Linked DNA regions of Homo sapiens: all the other regions are linked to region 2. Evidence: promoter capture Hi-C in 16 types of primary human blood cells and fetal thymus (Javierre and others, 2016). All regions are on one chromosome and are shown on one strand. Each heading gives the region's core, a stretch centred on a gene start or on the middle of the fragment in contact. The rest is flanking DNA. Distances are from core to core; before and after follow the strand shown.

Region 1 (3,662 bases), core at 86-2,585, 210 kb after region 2:
AAGCATACTATATATTTGTCTAACCTCCTAAAATTTTAGGTATAGGAACAACCCTAGCATAATTAGGCCCACAACGAATGGCCCCATTTTAGGCCAAATCTAGGGGTTTTCACTTTTGACATGTAGTGAGCTATGTATTTATTTGTGATATCTTGGAACACAACTGGACCAGACTCTGTGCCTGGCATTGAGACAGGCTAGAATAGAGAGAGGAAAAGCCAAGATCTGTAACTAGACTTAGGCCCTGGTGTGGAATAGTTCCAGGACGGGCCCTGGAAGTTAATTGGCAGGGAACAGTAAAATGCCATGGAGCACTTCCCAGATGAGAGGCTTACCAAGGGCTTTACACACACTTACCAAGATAAACAAGACTAACGCCTCCTCTTTCACCAAAAAGCTTACCGTCTGAAGAATGGGAATACAAATCTAGGGTTAAAATCCTAGGTTCACAGCTGCATCTGGGAGATCACCCATTCCAGTTTTCCCTTTCTAGGTGAGCTGAACACCGTGAAACAGAGGCAAGCAAGATGCTAAGGTAGTTTAGAGGAGGGTGAGCTTACTTGCTGGCAGGCAATTTCAGCCTGGAAGGAAGGAAATACTTTAACAAAAGAAAGTAGAACGTGTGAGAGACAAGAAACCTCAGAGTACATTTAAGGAACAGCATGAAGATCCTACTGGCTGAAATGGATGGTGTATATGAACTAATTTTTAACTTACAAATTTACTTTTAATTTCCAGCTCTGCCCAACAGGAGGTCTTTTTAGGTTCAACTAAACATGAACTCACAATCTAGACCACACTCAGATACTTCAGCGGATACTCCAAAGGAAGCATAGATTGCCATCGGGCCATGGGCATGTCCTTCCAGGACTCCCTGCAGCAGTCTACCTAGCAGCACTGCTTAGGTTCCCACAGCAAGATCCTTACTGGCCACCAAAGGTCGAGTTCTCATGCAGAAAGGGAAACAGTTTTGCTAGCCCTTTACTCATGCTCCCCAACACCAGCTCCAGTTTCACTGCTTTCCCCCAAAATAACTCCTGGTAATATTTTTCTGAGAATTTACATGAAATTATGTAGACATAGGTAGACATTTGGTTTATATCTATTTTTTCACTATTAAAACAAGCAATGAACATCCTTACACATGAAAGTATTTCCTATCAGTGAAGTTACTTGATCAAATGGTAAATTTTCAATTTTTTTTTTTTTTAAGAGACAAGGTCTCACTGTGTTGCCCAGGCTGGAGTGCAGTGTCTATTCACAGGTATGATCCCACTACTCATCAGCATGGGAGTTCTGACCTGCTTCATTTCTGACCTGGGCTGGCTCACCCTTCCTTAGGTAACCTGGTGGTCCCCTGCTCCCGGAGGTCACCACATTAATGCCAAACTTAGTGTGGACACCAGATCAGCATAGTGCACTACAGGTCAGAATTCCTAGACTTGAGCGATCCTTCCACCTCAGCCTCCTGAATAGCAGGGACTACAGGCACGCACCACTGCACTCAGTAAATTTTAAATTCTGATAGGTAATATTAAGTGGCTATTACTCTTAATGCACACCAACAATGTATGAGTACCAAGTTCCTTTCACTCTCTGTGGCTGAATATTAGACATCTTTAAATTTTGTCTTTATAATGAACCAACAATTGTCTTGTGTTAATTTGCATTTCTCTGATTACTAGTGAATTCATACATCCTTTTTTTTTTTTTTAAACTTTTTAAATTGGGCGGGGGGGTCTTGCTATGTTGCCTAGGCTGTTCTCAAACTCCTGGGCTCATGTGATCCTCATGCCTTAGCCTCCCAAAGTGCTGGGATTACAGGCGTAAGCCACCATGCCTGGCCATATACCTTTTCAAATATTTATTAATTACCATTTGTATTTTTTGTATGTGTGAATTACTTGATCATATTCTTTGCCCATTTTTCTATTGAATTTTTTTCATCAATTTGTAGGAGATATACATATATATATATATGGCATACATATTAATGTATTGTTTATATACACACAATAAATATTTCTATTTTATTGAGTATTATTAGATATGTAATGGAAACTATTAAAAACTTTTGATCAATACAGCTTGGTGGCTAAGTGAATGTTAGGGCTTTGTGTGTCTCAGCTCTATGACTTCCTAGTATGTGACCTTGGGCAAAGCACTTAATCTCCCTGAACCTGTTTTGCTAAGTGGGGATAAGAGATGTACTCACTGGCTTGTCTTGAGTATGGGGCACATAAAGTATTCAGTAAATGGTAACACTAAGCTTTTTTTTTTTAATTGAGATATAATTCACATACCATAAAGTATACAAGTCAGTTGTTTTTAGTATATTCACAAGGTTGTGTAACGATCACCACTATTTAATTCAAGAACTTTTCCATCACCGCCACGTAAAAAAATTCTGCACCCAGTCACTCCCCATCCTCCCTTCCCCACCCATCTCCTGGCAACCACTAATCACTTTCTGTCTCTATGGATTTACCTATTCTGGATGTTTCATATAAGTGGAGTCATACAGTAGGTGGCCTTTGTGTCTGGCATCTTTCATTTGGCATGTTTATAAGATTCATTCTGCATGTTTAGCACATCATTCATTTTTACTGCTGAGTAATAATCCATTGTATTGATACACCACATTCGATTTATTCATTCATCAGTTGATGGACATGGGGATTGTTTCCAATTTTAGCTATTCTGAATGATGCTCCTATAAATATTCATGCACAAGTTTTTGTGTGGACATGTTTTCAATTCTCCTGGGTATATATCTAGAAGAATTTTGAGGTCATATGGTAACTCTATGTTTAACATTTTAAGGAACTCTGAAACTTTTTCTACAGCAGTTGCATCTTTTTACATTTTTACCAGAAATATATGAGAGTTTCAATTTCTCCACATCCTCATCAACACTTACTATTGTCTGTCTCTTTTATTGCAGCCATTCTAGTGGATGTGAAGTGTTATCATCATTTTGATTTGTATTTCCAAATGATGTTAAGCATCTTTTTATATGCTTATTGGCCATTTGAATATCTTCTTTGGAGAAATGTGTATTCAAATTTTTTGCCCAATTTTTAATTGTCTTTTTATTGTTGAGTTGTAAGAGTTCTTTATATATTCTGGATACTCGACTCTTGTCAGATATATGAGTTGCAAATATTTTCTCCCATTTCGTGGGTTTGTTTTTTTTTTCTGACTTTTTTTAGAATGTCCTTTGAAGCACAGAAGTTTTTTTGTTTGTTTGTTTGTTTTTTTGGGGGGGACGGAGTCTCACTCTGTTGCCCAGGCTGGAGTGCAGTGGTGTGATCTTGGCTCACTGCAACCTCCGCCTCCCGGGTTCACGCCATTCTCCTGCCTCAGCATCCTGAGTACCTGGGACTACAGGCACCCGCCACCATGCCCAGCTAATTTTTTGTATTAGTAGAAGCAGTGTTTCACCATGTTAGCCAGGATGGTCTCAATCTCCTGACCTCATGATCCACCTGCCTCAGCCTCTTAAAGTGCTGGGATTACAGGCGTGAGCCACCACACCCGGCCAAAGCACAAAAGTTTTTAATGATGAAGATCAATTTGCCGTTTTTTTTTTTTTTTGAGACAGGGTCTTGTTCTGTTGCCCAGGCTGGAGTGCAGTAGCATGATCCTGACTCACTGCAACC
Region 2 (3,658 bases), core at 731-3,230:
ATAAAGTAGTATAAAAGATAAGCCCCCAATCTCGATGACTTCACATAATTAACATTTATTTCTCATTTACCTCAATCCTATTGGGGATCAAGTGGGAGTGAGGAGGGTAAGGAGATGTTTTGCTCTTAGCACTTATTCAGGAATCTAGGATGACCACGGCCCTGCCACCTGCAACATATGACTTCCATATACTTGGTGGCTGCTATAGTCACTCTGGGTGACAACATCCAGCCAGTAGATGGGGAAGGAGAGTGTGGAGAAGGGCAAAAGGTTTGTTTTACAATGAACCAAGTCTAGAGGTGACATCTAACACTTCTGCCCACATTACTTTGGCCAGAACTTGAAGAGTTTCCCCTGTAGACCAGCACTAGGAAATTGTCCTGGCTGGACAGCTGCTTGTCTGGAACAACTGGACACTGTGGAAGGGAAACACAAACCTTTAATGGGTGGTCAAACATACCTGACAAAGGTGCACTGTAGGAATACATCCGAATTTATTTAACATGCAGAAGGCTAGCTTGCTTCTCTTTCTTCTGCTTTTCTACTTATCTTTTGTCAAAGGCAAGTTTTTAAACTGTGGAAAGATATCATCTGATAAGAATGAAGACATGAGAAATTAGAAACCTGTAACCATTGCTGGTGGGTGTGTGTACTGGCTCAGATTTGGTGGGGTACAGAGGAGCCATCAATGAAAAACCTGTAAATGATGCATATCTATGATCCAGCAACACTTTTTTTTTTTTTTTTTTTGAGATGGAGTCTTGCTCTGTCGCCCAGGCTGGAGTGCAGTAGCGCAATCTCGGCTCACTGCAAGCTCCGCCTCCTGGGTTCACGCCATTCTCCTGCCTCAGCCTCCCAAGTACTTGGGATTATAGGTGTGTGCCACCACACCCAGCTAATTTTTGTTTTTTTTAGTAGAGATGGGGTTTTACCATGTAGCCTAAGCTGACCTCAAACTCCTGGGCTTAAGTGATTGGCTCACCTTGGCCTCCCAAAGTGCTGGGATTACAGGCGTGAGCCACCACACCTGGCCTGCTCCAGCAACACTTCTAAGGACGGTTTCTAAAGAAATGAGTGGATTGCTGCTCACATCTGTATGCACATGGATGTTTATAATAGTCATGCTTTGTAAACAACCTAGATGCCTAACCACAGAAAACTGTTTAAATTACTGCACATCCATGTAATGGAATACTATGCAGGGGTTTAAAATAATTGCATAGATATCTGCAAACATGAAAATATGTCCATGATACGTCATGATTAAAAAATAAGGTTCCTGGTCAAGTACCATGGCTCACGCCTGTAATCCCAGCATTTTGAGAGGCCAGGGCGGGCAGATCTCTTGAGCCCAGGAGTTCAAGACCAGCCTGGGCAACATGGCGAAACCTCATCTCTACAAAAAATACAAAAATTAGCTGGGCACGGTGGTGTGCACCTGTAGTCCCAGCTACTCAGGAGGCTGAGGTGTGAGGATTGCTGGAGCCAGGGAGGTAGAAGCTGTAGTGAGCCAAGATTGCACCACTGCACTCCCGCCTGTGTGACAGAATGAGACCCTGTCAAAAAAAAAAAAAAAAAAAGCTCCTAAAGTGCAATTTTAAAAAACAAATGATTACTTATAGCGAAAAGACTAGAGGACACATGCAAATGTGTACAGTATTTATCTCTGGGTAATAGAACTATGGGTGTTTTTCATTTTCTTCTTTTACACCTTTATGTAATGTGTTAATATTTTATCATTAGGGAAAAAAACAGCAAAGCTATTTTCAGCTTGAAATGAAAAAAGGTTGATAAAGGGGATTGGGGCTTAGGTGATTAAAGGCAAGCATGTGAGTCAGACATGGCCTCCCAGCCCCTGCCGGACTGTTGCGCTGTCGCCGGACACTCAAGTTGCTATCAGGAGCACTTTTCTCTGTCAAAGTGACTGGCTTTTGTCATGCAATCCCCAAGTTATAATGGGAGGGTAGGATAGGCCCCAGAGCAGTCAGCTGAGCCAGCCCCGCTCAGTGAGTCTGTCCTCTGGGGCTCGCCATGCCCCCAGCCTCCGCATGGGGAACACCATCAGGGCCCTCGTGGCCTTCATCCCTGCTGACCGTTGCCAGAACTATGTGGTCAGGGACCTCCGTGAGATGCCGCTGGACAAGATGGTGGATCTGAGTGGGAGCCAGTTACGCCGCTTCCCCCTGCACGTGTGCTCCTTCAGGGAGCTGGTCAAGCTCTACCTGAGCGACAACCACCTCAATAGCCTGCCTCCGGAGCTGGGGCAGCTACAGAACCTGCAGATTCTGGCCTTGGATTTCAACAACTTCAAGGCTCTGCCCCAGGTGGTGTGCACCTTGAAACAGCTCTGCATCCTCTACCTGGGCAACAACAAACTCTGCGACCTCCCCAGTGAGCTGAGCCTGCTCCAGAACCTCAGGACCCTGTGGATCGAGGCCAACTGCCTCACCCAGCTGCCGGATGTGGTCTGTGAGCTGAGTCTCCTTAAGACTCTGCATGCCGGCTCCAACGCCCTGCGTTTGCTGCCAGGCCAGCTCCGGCGCCTCCAGGAGCTGAGGACCATCTGGCTCTCGGGCAACCGGCTAACTGACTTTCCCACTGTGCTGCTTCACATGCCCTTCCTGGAGGTGATTGATGTGGACTGGAACAGCATCCGTTACTTCCCCAGCCTGGCGCACCTGTCAAGTCTGAAGCTGGTCATCTATGACCACAATCCTTGCAGGAACGCACCCAAGGTGGCCAAAGGTGTGCGCCGTGTGGGGAGATGGGCAGAGGAGACGCCAGAGCCCGACCCTAGAAAAGCCAGGCGCTATGCGTTGGTCAGAGAGGAAAGCCAGGAGCTACAGGCACCAGTCCCTCTACTTCCTCCTACCAACTCCTGAGGAGCTTCAGTTGCAAGTCAATGCCAAGGACCCAACTGCAGCATGTTCTGGAAGCCTCTCCATTGGAGTGGAAAGGATGGCTCTGGGTCATTTGGGAGTGGCTCTGCTAGTAGAGACTGATGGAGAGAGCCAGGTGGAATGCCATAAATCACACTGAGAAAATATTTCTGGCAAACAGCTCCTCTTCCAGAGGGGAGTTGTGTGCCAATGATGGCATGACAATCCAGAGATCATAACTTCTTTGCAAGAAAACAGCTTCTCCACACATGTATTTTGAAACACTGAAGAGCAAAAGGGGCTGGGACACTCTGAACTCCTGCACTCTCCAGAAGTGACTGGTCATGAAGCTCATGAGCTCCTCAAATAAGGTATTTGCCATAGAACTAAATATTCTGGTGGTCTGTCTCTTTGCAGGACATATTTTCTTTACTGTAAATGACCATAAACAGTATCAATGTATCACTGAGGCCACCGAAAAGGACATTTCTACCTAGGCAATCAGTCAGATTCACAGAAAAAAGTTGTTTGTTGTTGTAAAGGCTCAAGATGAAACTCTTTCCCCAGCAGTTTAGTGCCTGCTGAAAAGATCCCTGATGGACAATACTTCTTGGTGGACTCCAGCTGCCCCTTTTATTATTATTAGAGACAAGGTCTCACTCTGTTGCTAGGCTGGAGTGCAGTGGCACAATCATGGCTCACTGCAGCCCCGAACTACTGGGCTCAAGCCTTCCTCCCGCCTCAGCCTGCCCAGTAACTGGTACTACAGATGTGCACAC
Region 3 (3,853 bases), core at 1,326-3,825, 230 kb after region 2:
TCCTGGGCTCAAGTAATCCCCCAACCTCAGCCTCCTGAGTAGCTGGTACTACAGGAATGTGCCACCACACCCAGAAAATTAAAAAAATTTTTTTTGTAGAGATGGGGTCTCACTACATTGCTCAGGCTAGTCTTGAAGTCCTGGGCTCAGGCAATCCTCCCATGCTAGCCCCTCTAATGTGCTGCGATTATAGGCATGAGCCATCACACCTGGCCGCCAAAGCTGTACTCTGAATTGCAAAAACCTGTTCCTCCAAGACCTCCCACCTGTGTAAAAAGCAATGACTTTTTTGGAGTTCCTCAGGCCCAAAACCATGTAAGTCATCCTTTGCTTTTCTTTCTCCAATACCTCATTATTCAAAACATCAGCAAATCCTCCTGTACCTATTTTCAAATCAGGTCCAAAATCTAATGTCTTCTCCCATTGCTATCACTCTGGTCCAAGCCACCATTCTACCAAATCTGAATTACTGGGACAGCCTCCACACACAGGAAAGAGTAAAGGGGACTTTGTCTTAAGCTTTGGTACCAACTCCCCAATTCCACGCCTTGGCCCTTGGATGGCATCTCTGGACCTACCTAGGCCAAGAGGAGCCCACTGCCCTGAAGGGAAAGTCCCAGGCCTGGCAGTATTCAACACAAGCTGACTGAAGAGCCCTTGGGCCTTAAGTAAATATTTGTGGTACCCTGACAGAACTCCTTGTGGGCCTGTGGTAGTGGTGGACACAGGGAAAGAATCATCTGCCTGGAAAAAGGGGAGGGAAGAATGGGAAGGATGCTGTCTTGTAGCTTGGGTGCCAGCTCAGCCACAGTAAAACAGAGCACCAGGATTATTCCTAAGGTTTCCAACTCCAGGCCCTGGCTCCTGGACAGAATCTCTGGACCTACCCGCAGCCCAGGGAAACTCAGTGCCCTTAAGGGATGGACACAAGCTAATCAAATTAATGATTTAAGACAGTCTGTTATTTGGCTTGGAGATTGGGTGGTGAGTCTCGAACATCGCATGCAAATGCAGTGCAACTGGAATACTTTGGATTTCTGTATCATCCCCTATTCCTATAATGAGACTGATTATTCATGGGAAATGGTCAAAGGACGCCTTCTGGGTAGGGAAGATAATTTATCATTGGACATAACTAAATTAAAGAAACAAATTTTTGAAGCCTCTCAAGCTCACTTATCCATTGTGCCTGGAGCTGAGGCGTTAGATCAGGTGGCAGAAAATCTTTATGGATTAAACCCCACGACTTGGATTAAGTCTATTGGGGGCTCCACTGTAGTAAATTGTGGAATTACATTTCTCTGTTTAATCAGCTTGTTTTTAGTGTGCCGGACCAGTCAAAGAATCCTGGGTAAAAATCAAGAGAATGAACAAGCCTTCATCACCATGGCACATTTATATAAAAAGAAAGGGAGAGATGTTGCGGGAAGTCAGGAACCCCGAACGGAGGGAACGGCTGAAGCCATGGCAGAAGAACATAAATTGTGAAGATTTCATGGACATCTATTAGTTCCCCAAATTAATACTTTTATAATTTCTTACGCCTGTCTTTACTACAATCTCTGAACATAAATTGTGAAGATTTCATGGACACTTATCACTTCCCCAATCAATACCCTTGTGATTTCCTATGCCTGTCTTTACTTTAATCTCTTAATCCCGTCATCTTTGTAAGCTGAGGAGGATGTATGTCACCTCAGGACCCTGTGATGATTGCGTTAACTGCACAAATTGTTTGTAGAGCATGTGTGTTTGAACAATATGAAATCTGGGCACCTTGAAAAAAGAACAGGATAACAGCAATTGGTTCAAGGAACAAGAGAGATAACCTTAAACTCTGACTGCCGGTGAGCCAGGCAGAACAGAGCCATATTTCTCTTCTTTCAAAAGCAAATGACAGAAATATCGCTGAATTCTTTTTCTCAGCAAGGAACATCCCTGAGAAAGAGAATGTGTCCCTGAGGGTAAGCCTCTGAAATGGCTGCTTCAGGGGCGGCTGTCTTTTACGGTCGCAGCTGTAGGGATGAAATTAGCCCCAGTCTCCCGTAGCACTCCCAGGCTTATTAGGACTAGGAAATTCCTGCCTAATAAATTTCGGTCAGACCGGTTGCCTGCTCTCAAACCCTGTCTCCTGATAAGATGTTATCAATGACAATATGTGCCCAAAACTTCATTAGCAATTTTAGTTTTGCCCCGGTCCTGTGATCTCACCCTGCCTCCATTTGCCTTGTGATATCTTATTACCTTGTGAAGCATGTGATCTCTGTGACCCAGACCCTATTCATACACTCCCTCCCCTTTTGAAAATCACTAATAAAAACTTGCTGGTTTTGTGGCTTGTGGGGCATCATGGAACCTGCCGACATGTGATGTCTCCCCTGGACACCCAGCTTTAAAATTTCTCTCTTTTGTACTCTGTCCCTTTATTTCTCAGACTGGCCGGCACTTAGGGAAAATAGGAAAGAACCTACGTGAAATATTGGGGGTGAATTTCACCCGATATCTGGCTGAATTTCCCCTGATACTGGCTGACTTCATCACCTGCTGATTATAGAGCCTTAGGGCCTCACACAAACATAGGTGGCAGCCAGGCAGCGGTTACAGTGGGCCTTGGGCAAGACCCAGTAATGTGCTGGCTTCAAGTCTGACCTAAGGCAGTCCCAGTGGTGGTGGCTAAAGGGGTGCTTGTGTCATCCCTCCTCAGGTCTAGGCAGTTCAGCACAGAAACAGAAACTCCGTTTGTTTGGGAGAAAGTAAGGGACGAGAACAAGAGTCTCTGCCTGCTAATCCAGAGGATTCTTCTGGATCTTATCCAAGACCACCAAAGTCGTACCCTACAAATCTGCAAGAACCACAGCATTACTGGGCCTTGGGGTATCCCCTAATGCAGATATGGCTGCAGTGACCAAAAATTTAGATCACAACACCTAAGTTCCTTCAAATACCTGGAAAGCCTGCCCAAGGACAGGTACAACAAACCTAGATTACAAAGACTACAATAAAAACCTAACTCTGCAATGCCCAGACATTGATGAATATCAACAAGTATCAAGACCATCCAGGAAAACATGACCTCACCAAACGAGCTAAATAAGGCATCAGTGACCAATCTCTAACAGAGATATGTGACCTTTCAGAAAGATAACTCAAAATAGCTGTTTTGAGGAAACTCAAAAGAAATTCAAGATAACACAGATAAAGAATTTAGAATCCTATCACATAAATTTAATAAATAAATGGAAATTAAAAGAATCGAGCAGAAATGCTGGAGTTGAAAACACCACTGACATATGGAAGAATGCATCAGTCACTTAATAGCAGAACTGATCAAGCAGAACAAAGAATTAGTGGGCTTGAAGAGAGGCTATTTGCAAATTCACAGTGAGAGGAGACAAGAGAAAATGAAGCACATCTACAAGTTCTAGAAAATAACCTAGAAAAGGGGAAATCCAGGCCAGGTGCAGCAGCTCACACCTATGATCCCAGCACTTTGGGAGGCCAAGGAGGGAGGACTGCTTGAGCCCAGGAGTTCGAGACTAGCCTGGGCAACATGGCAAAACCCCATCTCCACCAAAAAAAAAAAAAAAAAAAAAAAAAAAAAAAAAAAAATTAGCTGGGCATAGTGGTGGCATGTGCCTGTGGGTCCCAGCTACTCAGGAGGCTGAGGTGAGAGGATTGCTTGAACCCGGAAGGTGGAGGTTGCAGTGAGCCAAGATCATGCCACTGCACTCCAGCCTGGGTGACAAAGTCAGGACCTGTCTCAAAATAAAAAGGCAGGGTAGGGGTAGAATCTAAGAGTTATTGACCTTAATTAAAGAGGAGATAGAGAGAGAGAGGAGTAGAAAGTTTATTC

Evidence for each region. The method cuts DNA at HindIII sites, captures the fragments that hold promoters and counts their contacts. A CHiCAGO score of 5 or more calls a contact.
Region 1: a contact is called between a fragment that was not itself captured here and the fragment with the promoter of LRRC10 in region 2, in 3 of 17 cell types (M0 macrophages, M1 macrophages and M2 macrophages). The highest score is 6.0, in M0 macrophages.
Region 3: a contact is called between a fragment that was not itself captured here and the fragment with the promoter of LRRC10 in region 2, in 1 of 17 cell types (M0 macrophages). The highest score is 5.8, in M0 macrophages.

Annotation. Positions count from the first base shown.
Region 1 is chr12:69,398,750-69,402,411 of GRCh38, reverse strand. It overlaps a transcript of YEATS4 not described here and the pseudogene RN7SL804P. Among named protein-coding and RNA genes, the nearest start is that of YEATS4, 41 kb to the right of the region's middle. The HindIII fragment of the contact is 1,872 bases long and covers 400-2,271 here.
Region 2 is chr12:69,609,229-69,612,886 of GRCh38, reverse strand. It overlaps LRRC10 (leucine rich repeat containing 10), which reads left to right and starts at 1,980. Exons shown (of 1, transcript NM_201550.4): 1 at 1,980-3,658. The coding sequence starts at 2,049. The coding sequence ends at 2,882. The HindIII fragment of the contact is 9,863 bases long and covers 1-3,658 here.
Region 3 is chr12:69,379,340-69,383,192 of GRCh38, reverse strand. All of the region lies in intron 6 of YEATS4 (YEATS domain containing 4), which reads right to left. Among named protein-coding and RNA genes, the nearest start is that of YEATS4, 22 kb to the right of the region's middle. The HindIII fragment of the contact is 4,107 bases long and covers 522-3,853 here.